2 separate regions of the Homo sapiens genome follow, and region 2 is linked to region 1. Evidence: promoter capture Hi-C in human tissues and cell types (Jung and others, 2019). All regions are on one chromosome and are shown on one strand. Each heading gives the region's core, a stretch centred on a gene start or on the middle of the fragment in contact. The rest is flanking DNA. Distances are from core to core; before and after follow the strand shown. Region 1 holds the start of ABHD12B (abhydrolase domain containing 12B). Region 2 overlaps NIN (ninein).

Region 1 (6,573 bases), core at 318-2,817:
TGCAGGTTGTGGCTCTGTGAAAACCCACCTGCTGCTGGCTCATCAGTCAGGCTTGGATCCCATTGGTCCTTTCTGAGCTAATTCCTCTTCTATCTTGATGTGTGTGAATCAGAAACTGAACATTCCAGCCAGGTGTGGTGACAGAGACCTGTAATCCCAGCACTTTGGGAGGCCGAAGTGGGAGAATTGCTTGAGGCCAGGAGTTTGATAGCAGCCTGGGCAACATAGTGAGATCTCATCTCTATACACACAAGCGTGCGTGCGCGCGCGCACCAGGCATAGTGGTGCATGCTTGTAGTCCCAGCTACTTGGGAGGCTGGAGTGGAAGGATTGCTTGAGTCCAGGAGTTCAAGTGAGTTCAAGTACAGTGAGCTATGATTGCACCACTGCACTCCAGCCTCAGTGACAGGGTAAGACCATGACAAGAAAGAAAGAAAGAAAGAAAGAAAGAAAGAAAGAAAGAAAGAAAGAAAGAAAGAAAGAAAGAAAGAAAGAAAGAGAAAGAAAGAAAGAAAGAAAGAAAGAAAGAAAGAAAGAAAGAAAGGAAGGAAGGAAAGAGAAAGAAACAAAGAAAACAAACATTCCCAGAGCAAGTATAAGAGTATTAACAGGCAGTGAACAAAATCCCCCTTTGCCCTGACAGTTCCATGAAATGAGCTAGTACTCAAAGAAAACTTCCCTTTCTTGAAAAGTGTGGGTATTTTCCCCCAGACCATCTTACTATCCTCAAGCAGATGGGTTTCCACGCACTTTCTGGTGCTGACAGCCCCCTGCTGTGCCCTCTGAACACAGACACTACAAAAAACCCATTTCACCTCTTAAGATTTGCACCTTGCCTCCAAGATGAAGCCTTGATGCTGGCATCCGAATGTATCCAAATAAAACCTAATTCCCTTTCTTCCTCCTTTGTCCCCACACATGCAGGCCGTGGCTTCCCTAGAGTAGCTCTGGTAGACAGTTCCTGCTCCTAGGAGACAGTTGCACAATGTAAACCTGCACCAAGATGTAAACCTGTACCAAGGTCAAAGTTTCAAGGTGTGAACTCCTTGGTACAATGATGAGGTTCTGCTACATGCTGCTACGTAAACAAAATACCGAAAAGGTCTTAATTTTTTGCTACATGGAGTAATTGTGTTCATAACCCCACGTGGACAGACAAATCATTAGTAAATCAAAGGGAGCCAAAGAAATTCTTTCTATAGTAAGGGTGACAGGGTGGGGGGCTGTGAGGATTTTGGGGGTGGATGGGGAATTGGAGACAAGGAGGCTTCAGAAAAAGAGAAAAAGAAAAAAGTGAGGTTTAAGTAGAGGAAAGCTTATATTCTTCATGAAAATCAAAAGCTGTGGCGGTCAAACTTTTGTGTTAGTAGTACCATGGTGAAAACATATTTTACTGCGTTGCGCGCGCCTCACACCCACACACACACAGAAGTATAATGGAAATCAATTTAAAATAAAATGTAGCATAGCTAGCTATAAGCTTAGGACATCTGTGTGTGTGTGTGTGGCCGCGAACAGCCTGACCCGGGCGGAGCGCACCCTCGGGCCGCGTCTCCCCCGCCGTACCAGCCTGCCTGACCGCGCGGAGGAGGAGGGCGGGCGCGGTGCCGCCGGGGCGGGAAGGTCGCGGGCGGCTGCTCCGGACTGCAGCTCCCGCGGCGGTGGCGGCGTATCGGGACACGGCGCGGGATGGACGCGCAGGACTGCCAGGCGGCCGCATCGCCCGAGCCGCCCGGGCCCCCAGCCCGTAGCTGCGTGGCCGCCTGGTGGGACATGGTCGACCGCAACCTGCGGTGAGTACCGCCCGGTCCACCCCTGGCCGGGCCCCGACGGCTCAGGCTGCGCGGGGATGGGGCAGGGGGCCAGGGCGCGGCCGAGGCCGCAATCCCCTCTGCTGGCCCGGGCCCAAGGCCCAGCATTGTGGCTTCCGGGGGACCTCGGCGGCCCCCTGAGAACTCTAGGGCTCTTTGGTTGCCCTTGCTATCCTCAGCCTCAATCCCAACCTGGACCAGCGAGACTCTCAGGTTTGGTATTTCAGGAAGTTATAACTTTTGGGGGCTTCTGAAATACAGATGCCAGGGAGATGGTTGAATTCCTACACCAATCTCTATTATCTGACCATTTTGCTAACATACAAGATGGATCTGAATGACATTAGTAATAGTGACAATAGTAATATATGTTGTAATCTTGGACGGGATCCTCTTAGGTCAAGGGCCTATCTGTGTAGGTGGAAAAGAATCAGAAAATCCGTGCCTAGTTCCCTGAGTGTGAACTCCCTGGCATGTATTTAAAGAAAACACCTCCAGTATGCTAAAGATGTACATAGTGTGTTGAAACCATAACTTGGCATTACCTGTGCCAAGTTCTTATGTTGTTTAAGTCTGAAATGTATCAGTGGGTGTTTCGGGTTTTGTTTCTGTTTTCTTCCTCCCATGGATCCTCGGTTTAAACAGTAATCTTAAATTACCTGAATCCACCTGCAACATATTGTCAGTCTTGTTTGCACTGAAGCCAGGTATTGGTTGGAGATCGTGGACCCAGGACACGTGGGTATTTCATTTAGTTTTGTTGGTGTGGGAAGGTATTGGCATTTTTACTTCCCTCTTTCTATTCCTTTTGTTTAATTTGTGCTGATTAGAAAATATCCAAAAATTACATCCAGACACAGGAGACCTCACTTTGGAGTGCCCAGAGTGATGATGACAAACGGGGATCTTTTCTCTCTCTCTCTCTCTTTTTTTTTTCTTTTTTGAGACAAGGGTTTCACTCTGTTGCCCAGGCTGGAGTGCAGTGGCACAATCTTGGCTCATTCCCAGGGCTCCAGCGATCCTCCCGTCTCAGCCTCCCCAGTAGCTGGGACTACAGGCACCTGCCACCACACTGAGCTGATTTTTGTATTTTGTGTAGATATGGGTTTTCACTACATTGTTCAGGTTGGTCTCAAACTCCTGGAGCTCACAGATTCCACCTGCCTTGGCACCCCAAAGTGTTGGGATTACAGGTGTGAGCCACTGCACCTGGTCTCTTTTCTCTTCTATTCCTTTTTATTCTCATTGCAGACAGCAGAGTGCTGGCAGCTCTGCAGGGGCCCAGTCACCTAGAACCCATGCCTCCCAGCTCTGGGTTGGATCTGAACACGTGGCAGAATGTCCTGATTGCACTTGTCAAACTGCATATTAACAGGACTTCTCTCCCAGATGTGGTGATTCTGGGAACGTTGACATCTAATGTTTTTCACTTTGATGGTCTCTGTGGAATTGATGGCTGATTATTTAACATTTATTTGGCAGTAAAGGGCATTTATTAGGCAGAGAATCAAAGTTGCACATCATACTCATAGAGAATAACCCACTTTGTTGATAATGGAGTGGGAGATAGGGAGTTGGGGACCATCTATTACTTGCCTTACTAATTAGTGAAAAAAGTCTCAAGAGACACTTCCTGAAAGAACAAAATACTAGCGTATGTCTTCATCTGAGCAGAAGATTATTGGCTACCATAAGATGTGCTGAGGCTGAGGCCCAGACCCATTTCCACTATCCCAAGTCCTCTTTGATTCTTGGAGCCGGGTTCACTTAGGTGAGCAAACCTTCATGGAGGGCTTGCCATGCCCCTGGCCCTGATCATGGCACTGGAACTAGTGGGATGTGTTGTGAGACCCAAGAACATTTCATCATATGATTTTTTCAGTGGCTATTTTTTAATGCCTTGGGAATCTAGTTATTTATTTTACAAAAATTTTTATCAAATCCAGTTGCTGCTTAAGGTGGGTGGGCCAAGGAGAGTAAGTCTCCACTTTACAACTGGTTTTCTTTAAATTAGAAAAATGAGGCCAGGCATTGTGGCTCACATCTGTAATCCCAGCACTTTGGGAAGCCAAGGCGGGCAGATCATGAGGTCAGGAGATGGAGACCATCCTGGCTAACACAGTGAAACCCTGTCTCTACTAAAAATACAAAAAATTAGCCAGGCGTGGTGGCACATGCCCGTAGTCCCAGCTACTCCGGAGGCTGAGGCAGGAGAATTGCTTGAACCTGGGAGGCGGAGGTTGGAGTGAGCCGAGATCGCACCACTGCACTCCAGCCTGGGTGACAGAGCGAGACTCCGTCTCAAAAAAAAATAATAATAAAAAAAGAAAAATGGAAAATGTGCTCCAGAAGGAAGTTGGGGGAAACCAAAGGTTTATTTTCCTCCTCATTTCCCCCATTCCACCCCAAGTCATTACAATCCTAGATAGTGCTCAGAAAATGTGCAGGAGTAGGCTGATAAATGTGTTCATTCTTTCCACAGCGTTGGTTCTTTATTATCTATTGGATAGTATTCTAGTCTTGGTCACACAGCAGTAAATAAAACAGACAAAATCCTTGCTCTGTGGAGCACACATTGATTCATTTGCAATTGTAAGTAAAAAAAAGAAAATGAAGTCCTTCCTCTTTCCTCTGAAGCTACCAATAAATGTTGCTTCCTTCTCCCTTACAAAATAAATGCACTCTCTTTCTATTTTCAACCTATGCGTCAATATTTACTGAGCTCAGCCCTGGGCTAGACAGAGGGAAATGTAAAGGAAGCATTCTATGCCATGTTGTTCTTGTTGTCTGTGGCCTGATAGAGTGGAGAAGACAGGGCTAATAATGGGAAAGCCATCACAGAACAATTCAAGGCCAGCTGAGGCCCCGTTATTATTTGTGGGAGGAAAGACAAGAGAGGAGAGGTCACCATGGAATGATCTCTCCAGGAGACTTTGACAAAAAAGAGATACTTCCATGGGTGTGAAGGAAGAGGGGATTTGGTTGGGAGGATGTCTCCCGGTGCTTGGTGACAAACACATGTCGACTGAGTGAATTGGCACACAGGTTGAAGGTACCTGTCTTAATATTTGAAATAGTAAATGTAGTTAGATTTGGGCTTCCCAAAGTTGGTTTGCAGAAACCTCTGAGCATGAGTGATTCACCCTGTAGCAGCTCAGACTCCACCAGCTTTCACCAGTAAGAATCATCCAGTTAGGTTCTGAGTCCCCTGTGGGACGCTGTGTGGTTACAGCTGCAGCTGATCAAAGGGCAAGTGAAAGAACACCAAAGCACCAAGGTGGCCGTTTGATGTGGCTGGCCGTTAGCGGGGATTGGGCTGAAACTGCATCCTCTGCTCAAATAAGGTCTATTAGCCACTGGTGACTTTTGATCCCTTACTGATCTAGGGGAAGTCAAATTGACAACCCCTTAGTTAAAAGAAGCTGCTTTGCATTATTGATGCTCTGAGGATCTGGTCACTCTGTTCTCTTCCCGCAGTGCATCTCAGAAAAGTGCCTCGAGCTATTTGAGAGAAGGACTGTGTATGAATTATTCCTTAAAAAACAGACACACATTTCCCTCTACTGCCTCTGCTTCCCAAGCAGACCTTCAAAACATAGCTTAGCGGGAGACTACCCTGCCTACCTTCAAAAGACAGCTTAGCTGGAGACTAACAGGCAGGGTGGAGGTGAGTGAGGGGAGCTTAGAAGGAAGCCAGCAGGAGCCAGCAGCTGGAAGGAGGCACAGTTCAGCCTTGGGTTCAGTTCTGTCCATTTGGGCTTGATCTGTGGCTCAAAGTGGCTTCTCTGGGTTTTGATTTCTTATCTCTAAAATCAGAACAACAATGTCCTCTCCTTCCTGCCGCCTTCATGGCAGGGGTGGTGGGGTGCTATTTTAAAGTATTATGAAACAATCATTTTCATTTCTTTCTTGCTGATTTTATGAGTAGGCAATTGCCAGCGTATGATGTATTCAAAAATCTATCCATTACCCTTAGCCCACATATCTTTTCCACTTCTTGCAGAACTGCTGGAAATTCATCAGAGATTCATTATCTTCTCTCTTCGTGCCTCTTCCAAACACATATAAGTGCTCTGATTTTTAAGTCATTAACACTTCAGGGGGAATTAATTTTTTTAGAGGTCTTTCTTTGATGACTTTGTTATCAGAGGGCTCCTGAGAATACAGGAGCAGGAAGGAGGAAAGAAGAAAGGACGGGACCCTGCTGAGAGGGCTAAGGTGCAGAAGGAGATCTTAAAACAAGATTGTCTATGAGCAGAATTTTGCCAGAGGCCAGCTTTGTTCCTGGGGTTCATTTCTGCTTACATGGATGTCACCAAGACTGTGACATCCTGGAGATCATTATAAGACTATGGGATCAGACAGACCTGGGTATGTGTGGCTCTGCCATTCATTGACTTGTGACCTTGGAAAGATTACTTAACTTTCCAGTCTCATTTGCAAAGCAAAGGTAATAATTATCTTCCAAAAATGCCTCTGGTCTAGCATAGAAATCAGGGCAGGGGAGACAATTTATCAAAAATGCTTTCCAGCCCCTCAACCTTACCATTTGATTATATTAAACAGTTTTAACAATGATCTCTTACAACATGGAAAGGGACTTACTTAATGGATAATGTGGGCAAAAACTGGAAGCAGGAGGTGATGACATTGACCTCCTGTATCCCTCACCTCTCTAAGACCCTCACAAGAGAGGTGGCTTGAGACAGAGGTGTCCTTAGTGACCCCTCATGGACAAATCGTCACTTGTGTGCTGACAGCT
Region 2 (6,887 bases), core at 34-2,533, 130 kb before region 1:
AAAAACAAGCTATTGGGTAATTGCTGTTTTGAGACAGGTGTCATGTTTACCCAATGACAACGACTCCTAATAAGTACCTTTCAATTGTCCCCTCAGTCTTCTAATGAAAGTATGTGTATGTACATATAAATATGAATAAAACAATATTCTTGAAGTTTGATTTAAACAAAAAGATTTGGAGAGTCTCTGTTTAAAATGGTCTTTGACAAAACAGCCATGCCATGTCCAATAATGAATATGACTGTAGGGCAAGGCCCAGTTCCATAAAGGACCCAAATGCATTGAGACTGGTGGCTTAAAAGTTGCTTCATTCTTACGAAGTTATCTTTAAGCCCAGAAGATATTCATTTGATTCACAGAGGACATAAAGAGAAGGCTGAAATGCACTGCCAACTCAAAAGCTTTCATAGGCTAAACTCTACTTTCATTTTCACATATGCAATCATATCCTTTTTTTAGAATCCAAAGCACATATTGTCCATGTAATTAACGTCTGAATTCAGAAATGTGCTTTCAGCTACCAAAGTGATTTTTTGGATCTTGAAAATGATTTAAAAAATTAAAAAGATAACACAAATAGATAAGCCTCTTACCTTTTAAACCAAACATGAAAAAAAAAAAGGTACAATCTCATTTTCAGAAAAAGTCAACCCAGAAGTAATTTTAAAAATGGAAACTTTTTTTTTTTTGAGACAGACTCTCACTCTGTCACCCAGGCTGAAGTGCAGTGGCACGATCTCAGCTCACTGCAACCTCCACCTCCCGGGCTCAAGCAATTCTTATGCCTCAGCCTTCCAAGTAGCTGGGATTATGGGCGCATGTACTACCACAGCTGGCTTTTTTTTTTTTTTGAGACAAAGTCTAGCTCTGTCGCCCAGGCTGGAGTGCAGTGGCACGATCTTGGCTCACTGCAACCTAGCCCTCCCGGGTTCAAGCGATTCTCCTGCCTTAGCCTCCCGAGTAGCTGGGATTACAGGCACTCGCCACCATGCCCAGCTAATTTTTTTTATTTTTAGTAGAGATGGGGTTTCAACATGTTGGGCAGGCTGGTCTTGAAGTCCTGACCTCGTGATCCGCCCGCCTAGGCCTCCCAAAGTGCTGGGATTACAAGCGTGAGCCACCATGCCTGGCCATTTTTGTATTTGTAGTAGAGACAGGGTTTCGCCATGTTGGCCAGGCTGGTCTTGAACTCCTGGCTTCAAGTGGTCTGCCTGCCTCGGCCTCCCAAAGCGCTGGGATTACAGGCATGAGCCACCACACCCAGCCCAAAACAACTAGTTTTTTTATAAAAAGTTTCACCAAGAGATAACTGAATGTGTCTACTTTTATTGTAGGACAAAATCTTGACATCTGCCCCAAAATGACATCTATAACATTGTTCTTAATTTATTTGCACACAGATTAGGCAGCACTGTGACTTATTAAAATGAGACACTTTCTACCACACCACCATAATGTGTCAGCCAGCTAACACTTTAATCAGCTCTTCCTGGACTTTCTGGTGCCATAGCAACCTATTTGTAGCAATGAATTATCTCCTGAAATTCAATACTATTGTTTTATGCCTTTTTAGCAGAAGCTGTACTTTTTTGCAAGTCTGTGTATAAGTTCCCAGATTAATTTCTTGCAATGTTTTTCTACATTTGATTTTTTTTAAGGTCACACAAATACTTTTCTCTACCATTTAAGAAAATGTTTTAGTTTTGTTATTACAAAACTCAACTCAGCCATGGTCTTCTGACTTGCTCAATACAAAAAAAAGACCTGTTTTATATCACTATGGTTTCATTTATATGAAATTTAGAAAAAAGCATCCCTAAACTACAGTGGCAGAGGGTACAAAAGTGGTTCCCTTGGGGTTACCAACTGGAGGGAACAAGAGAGAGCCTGCTGAGTGCTGGAAATGTTCTACATTTTTATCTAAGTGATGGTTATACAAACACAGATACATAAAATATGCATATTTATATGTACATACATATACACATAAAAATAACCAAGTTGTCCTAAGATTTGTATACTTTACTGTAAATAACTTATACCTAAATAAAAAAAGAACAAATCACCTTGCCACCAGCATTCTGAAGTTGCTTATGTAAAGACATCACTTCTTGTTTTAAAGCCTCCTTTTCCTGCTGAGTCACTCGTAGGTCAGATTTCATCCGGGACATTTGCAGGTTTACATTCTGCACGGTGTCTTCTAAATTCTGAACCTGTATTGTGAGAATGATCTTTTACTGCTACACAAACTCTTGTGGTCTCACCTCTAGCATGTTCAGGAATGAATAAGGACAAAAGAACTTTCAAGTCTGTTTGTTTCTCTTTACTAAATCCAGCTTTCTTGTCAGTAGCTCAGTGGAAACCTAGGACAGTAGGTATATTTACAGGATGTTAAATTATATTTAGGACAATGATGAACTATGTCTGGAGCAAGGTATTGCTGATAGTCATCTGGTAGATTACTAAATGGTATCTTACAATACCAATGGGTGCCAACTGGCATCACAAAAGATGGTTTCACTGAATTTTGTAGAAATTGTTTTAGCCTATGATGTTGGACTGTAAAGGACCCTCTTAGTTGCAAATAAAAATATATACTTGTAGAATCCTATTCTAGGCTAGGCATGGTGGCCCACACCAGGAATCCCAGTACTTTAGGAAGCCAAGGCAGGAGGATCGCTTGAGCCCAGGAGTTTCAAACTAGTCTAGGCAAGATGGCAAGACCCCCCATCTCTACCAAAAATAAAAAGCTGAGTGTGGTGGCGTGTGCCTGTAGTCCCAACTACCTGGAAGGCTGAGGTGGGAGAATCCTTTGAGCCCAGGAGTTTGAGGTGGCAGCAAGTGGTGATCCAGCCTGGGATACAAAGAAACCTCACCTTTTTTTTTTTTTTTTCTGGAGACAGAGTCTTGCTCTGTCGCCCAGGCTAGAGTGCAGTGGCACGATCTCGGCTCACTGCAACCTCCGCCTCCCAGGTTCACGCCATTCTCCTGCCTCAGCCTCCCCAGTAGCTGGGACTACAAGCACTTGCCACCGCGCTCGGCTAATTTTTTTGTATTTTTAGTAGAGACGGGGTTTCACTGTGTTAGCCAGGATGGTCTTGATCTCTTGACCTCGTGATCCGCCTGCCTCAGCCTCCCAAAGTGCTGGGATTACAGGCGTGAGTCACCGTGCCTGGCTAAGACCTCACCTCTTAAAGAAGAATCCTATTTTACGCTAATACCGCATATAAATTCCAATTTTAAAAATTTAAATTCATAAAGGGAATGTTGATATAGATCTTCAAAATAGGGCATAAACTGCCTTAGAAGTCCTATCTATAAATTAGGAACAAGCAGTCATTTTTATGCACTATTCTCAAGCCTTCATAATTAATAAACTTTGATGGAAATATTTAAATTATTTTGCTGCAATGTTTGAAATATTATTTAAATCATTTTGTCATACTATATTTACTTTTCTTTTTTTGAGATGGAGTCTCGCTCTGTCGTGCAGGCTGAAGTGTACTAGCATGATCTTGGCTCACTGCATCCTCTGCCTCTTAGGTTCAAACAATTCTCCTGCCTCAGTCTTTGGAGTAGCTGGGACTTAACAGGCACCTGCCACGACACCAGGCTTTTTTTTTTTTTAATTTTTAGTAGAGATGAGGTTTCACCATGTTGGCCAGGCTGATCTCGAACTCCTGACCTCAAGTGATCTGCTCACCTCGGCCTCCCAAAGTGCTGGTGAGCCACCATGCCCAGCCTTGCCACACTATAAACACACATCAAACATTGGTCAAATTGAATCATTTGGAACCCTCTTACGCTACTTCTACCTGGAACACTCTTTTTACCGGGATTTCTGTTGGAAGATCTAGGAGAATACTAACCGTGAAGATGAAACAAGAATTGTCCATGTACCTTTTCCTGAGAAGCCACCAGCTGTGACTTTAAGCTCGCACTCTGATGTTCCCAGGATTTCTGTTCCTGCTTCATCGTCGCAATTCTATGCTCTAAAAGACTTGATTTTGCCAACTGTTTCAGGAAGGGAAAAAGAGGTAAGAGGGCATTTTTGCAAACATAGCTAGCCTTAATTTATATGCCTGCACTTACATTGTCAAGAACAAGTACCATCTATTTATGTAGGGGAGCAGGGCAAGGTCAAAGGAAATGGTCTTCCTGGCTCCAAATCGAGACAAACCAAAGACTGTTTTACACGTCTAATTTTGAGGAGTTGCTTCTTTTTGGAAATTTCCTATTTTTCTTTTCTATTGCCTCATGTTTTGAGGGTGGAAGATGGTAAGCTGGAAGGCCATTAAAAATCTCAAGAGCATACCATAGGAAGAAAACAGAATATCTCTTAAGGCAGGTGGGGAAAAAAGGTGGTGTTTTGGGATTTGCTAAAGAAGATAAAATAGAAAAAAAGTGTTTATCTATGAAATTGATCTCAGATTATTAAACACATAATTTATATTATAACAAAATAGCGGTATAAAGTAGCACTGTGATGTGATAAGAAACATTTTGTATTATCGAGTTTAATAATATAATTAGTAAACAACTAATTTAGACTTCATCAGTCTTGGCTGCAGGAAGTCTGGGGTCACAGAATGCCAAAGAAATGCTGCTCCAGGACACTCTGGAACAACAGACTACCACAGGAGGCCCCTGTGCCACTGTCCACAGAGAAAGGTTCATTATGGTGTGTATTGTATACGATGATGGTAAAGTCTTATTACTTCTACTACCTTATCGACACAGCTATTTAATTCCTCACTCAGAGCTTCCTTTTCTTTCAGCAGTTTTTCGTTGTAGCTTAGAACACTAGAGATTTTTTGCTGGAAGTCAGAGAGATCGGGACATCTGTGCAGCTGTAAGAGATAAACAAATGAGCCCTCCCATCACATCTCATGGCTGTAAGTACAAAGGGGTATTTCTAAATAGGGCATTTTCACAGCTGCTGCTATTTGCCTATCTGTGGATATTTCAGAGGACATAAACTCTAGCAGAGACTATAATAAACTTCAAGGATTCCCTTCTGGCTTCTCTCTGATTCCCAGTTGACTGTTGAAATGTCTGCTTAGGTAGATTGAACCAGGCAGACATTGTTAAATAATGATCCTAGCTCTCCTTTTAAAAAACCAGTCAAGACTATAGAATTGGGCTGTGGGGGTGGCTCACACCTGTAATCCCAGCACTTTGGGAAGCCAAGGTGGGGAGGATCACTTGACCTCAGGAGTTTGAGGTCAGTCTGGTGAACATGGTGAAACCCTGTCTCTATTAAAAATAATTAGCCAGGCGTGGTGGTGCATGCCTGTAATCCTGGCTACTCAGGAGGCTGAGGCAGGAGAATCGCTTGAACCTGGGAGGCAGAGGCTGCAGTGAGCCGAGATGACTGCACTCCAGGCTGGGCGACAGAGACTCTGTCTCCAAAACAAAACAAAAAAACCCCCTAGAATTGGCATGAACCACATACAAGTAACAACCCAAAGGCAAGTTTAAAGATAAAACCGTGTTTTCAGCTTGTTCCCTGTACTCTTCCTTTCAGAAGGTGCCTACGCTGACTGGCCAGTAAAATGTTGTTGGTGCGAACATACTGGCTTTTCCTCTCCACTTCATGAAATCAAGACAAACCAAATACTGTTTTTTATTCGTCTTCAATATCAGTGCTGGTACTAGTCTCATTTTGGGCTGGATAATTCTTCAGGCGTTGGGGGTCGCGGGGCATTCTGGACACTGTAGGATGCTTCACAGCGTCTCTGGCTTTACTCAAAAGATGGCAGTAACCCCCCACCTTCCAGTTGTGAAAACAAAAAATGTGCCCAGACATTGATAAATGTTCTGGGGCAGGAGAGCAATCCTCACCCCTTCACCCTATTGAAAACCCATGCTTTAAAGAGGCTGTTTCTTACACTTCTTAACCCTTTTCCATAGTTCATAGGTTTTTAACTTTCCTCTATTTCACTTGACTCTTCAATTCTTTATTATCATTATGATTTTACGACCATCTTTCTACTTCCTGAACCTGAAATTCTTTCACATTTAGCTGTAGGAATAGTATGACAAAACAGACTTTCAGGGTTCAATCTTGTCTTCAACTGGTGACAAATCCAGCATACCTTACAAATCTGAACAAGTCAGAAGGATATAGGAAAATGTATTTTGAAATACCTGGGCACTGGTTTAATAAAGGACCTTCTACTTTATCCACTGCCTTGTCTTCCTACCCTCCAGACACCCGTAAAGCTTGATACCATTTTGGATGTCTGTAAACTGGCATGTAACTTTTGCTGATGCTATTTGTGTTTCCTTTCAGTGCAATAGATAACACAGATAGAAGTGCTTTGTGAACTATGAATCACGATATCATACAGAGTGACACATGCCTTCTAGGTCCACGTTGTATAATAGCAATGATGGGCTGACGCTACCCTATTCTTGGGATCCAAAAGGATCCAGGTCTCTGATAAAACAACTTTCTACCAAAGGCAGACCAGGCTCACAATTTCTTCATCTCACTATTTATACCAATGCTTGTTTAAAAAAAAAAAAAAAAAAGCAATAAAAACGTGCTGAATGACATCCCCATCATGTTGTTTTTCTCCTAGCTCTGCTCCTTTCCTTCTGTTCTCCAGCTTAGCAAAGCCACAAAGCACACATTTCCCATACTATGAATTTGAAACCAATCATTATCATCTAAAGGCTGAACAACAGACAGGCTTTCAAAAAGTCAAGGAAAAAAGGATGCTCAAGTTAATTAGGATAAAGTTGGTAATAACAGCCTTGGAATACTTCACCACACTACAGAAAGGCCCCATGAGTTTTAACTTCTGTTATGTTTATATGGACAGGCGACTTCTCTAGTCACGGCAGAACATGCATTTTGCATAGCAGTAGTTAACTTGAAA

What was found. Contacts are between HindIII fragments. The study calls those that stand out against the background at their distance.
Region 2: a contact is called between a fragment that was not itself captured here and the fragment with the promoter of ABHD12B in region 1, in 1 of the 25 tissues and cell types used here (spleen).

What each region holds. Positions count from the first base shown.
Region 1 is chr14:50,870,486-50,877,058 of GRCh38, forward strand. ABHD12B (abhydrolase domain containing 12B) reads left to right here and starts at 1,568. Exons shown (of 13, transcript NM_001206673.2): 1 at 1,568-1,793. The coding sequence starts at 1,690. RefSeq lists a silencer at 5,051-5,100. The HindIII fragment of the contact is 9,841 bases long and covers 653-6,573 here.
Region 2 is chr14:50,739,516-50,746,402 of GRCh38, forward strand. NIN (ninein) reads right to left here. Exons shown (of 31, transcript NM_020921.4): 23 at 4,728-4,850; 24 at 3,901-4,014; 25 at 2,067-2,213. LOC124903313 (a long non-coding RNA gene) reads left to right here and starts at 3,949. Exons shown (of 3, transcript XR_007064161.1): 1 at 3,949-4,037; 2 at 4,560-4,895; 3 at 5,528-6,561. RefSeq lists an enhancer at 4,387-5,586. The HindIII fragment of the contact is 4,060 bases long and covers 1-3,313 here.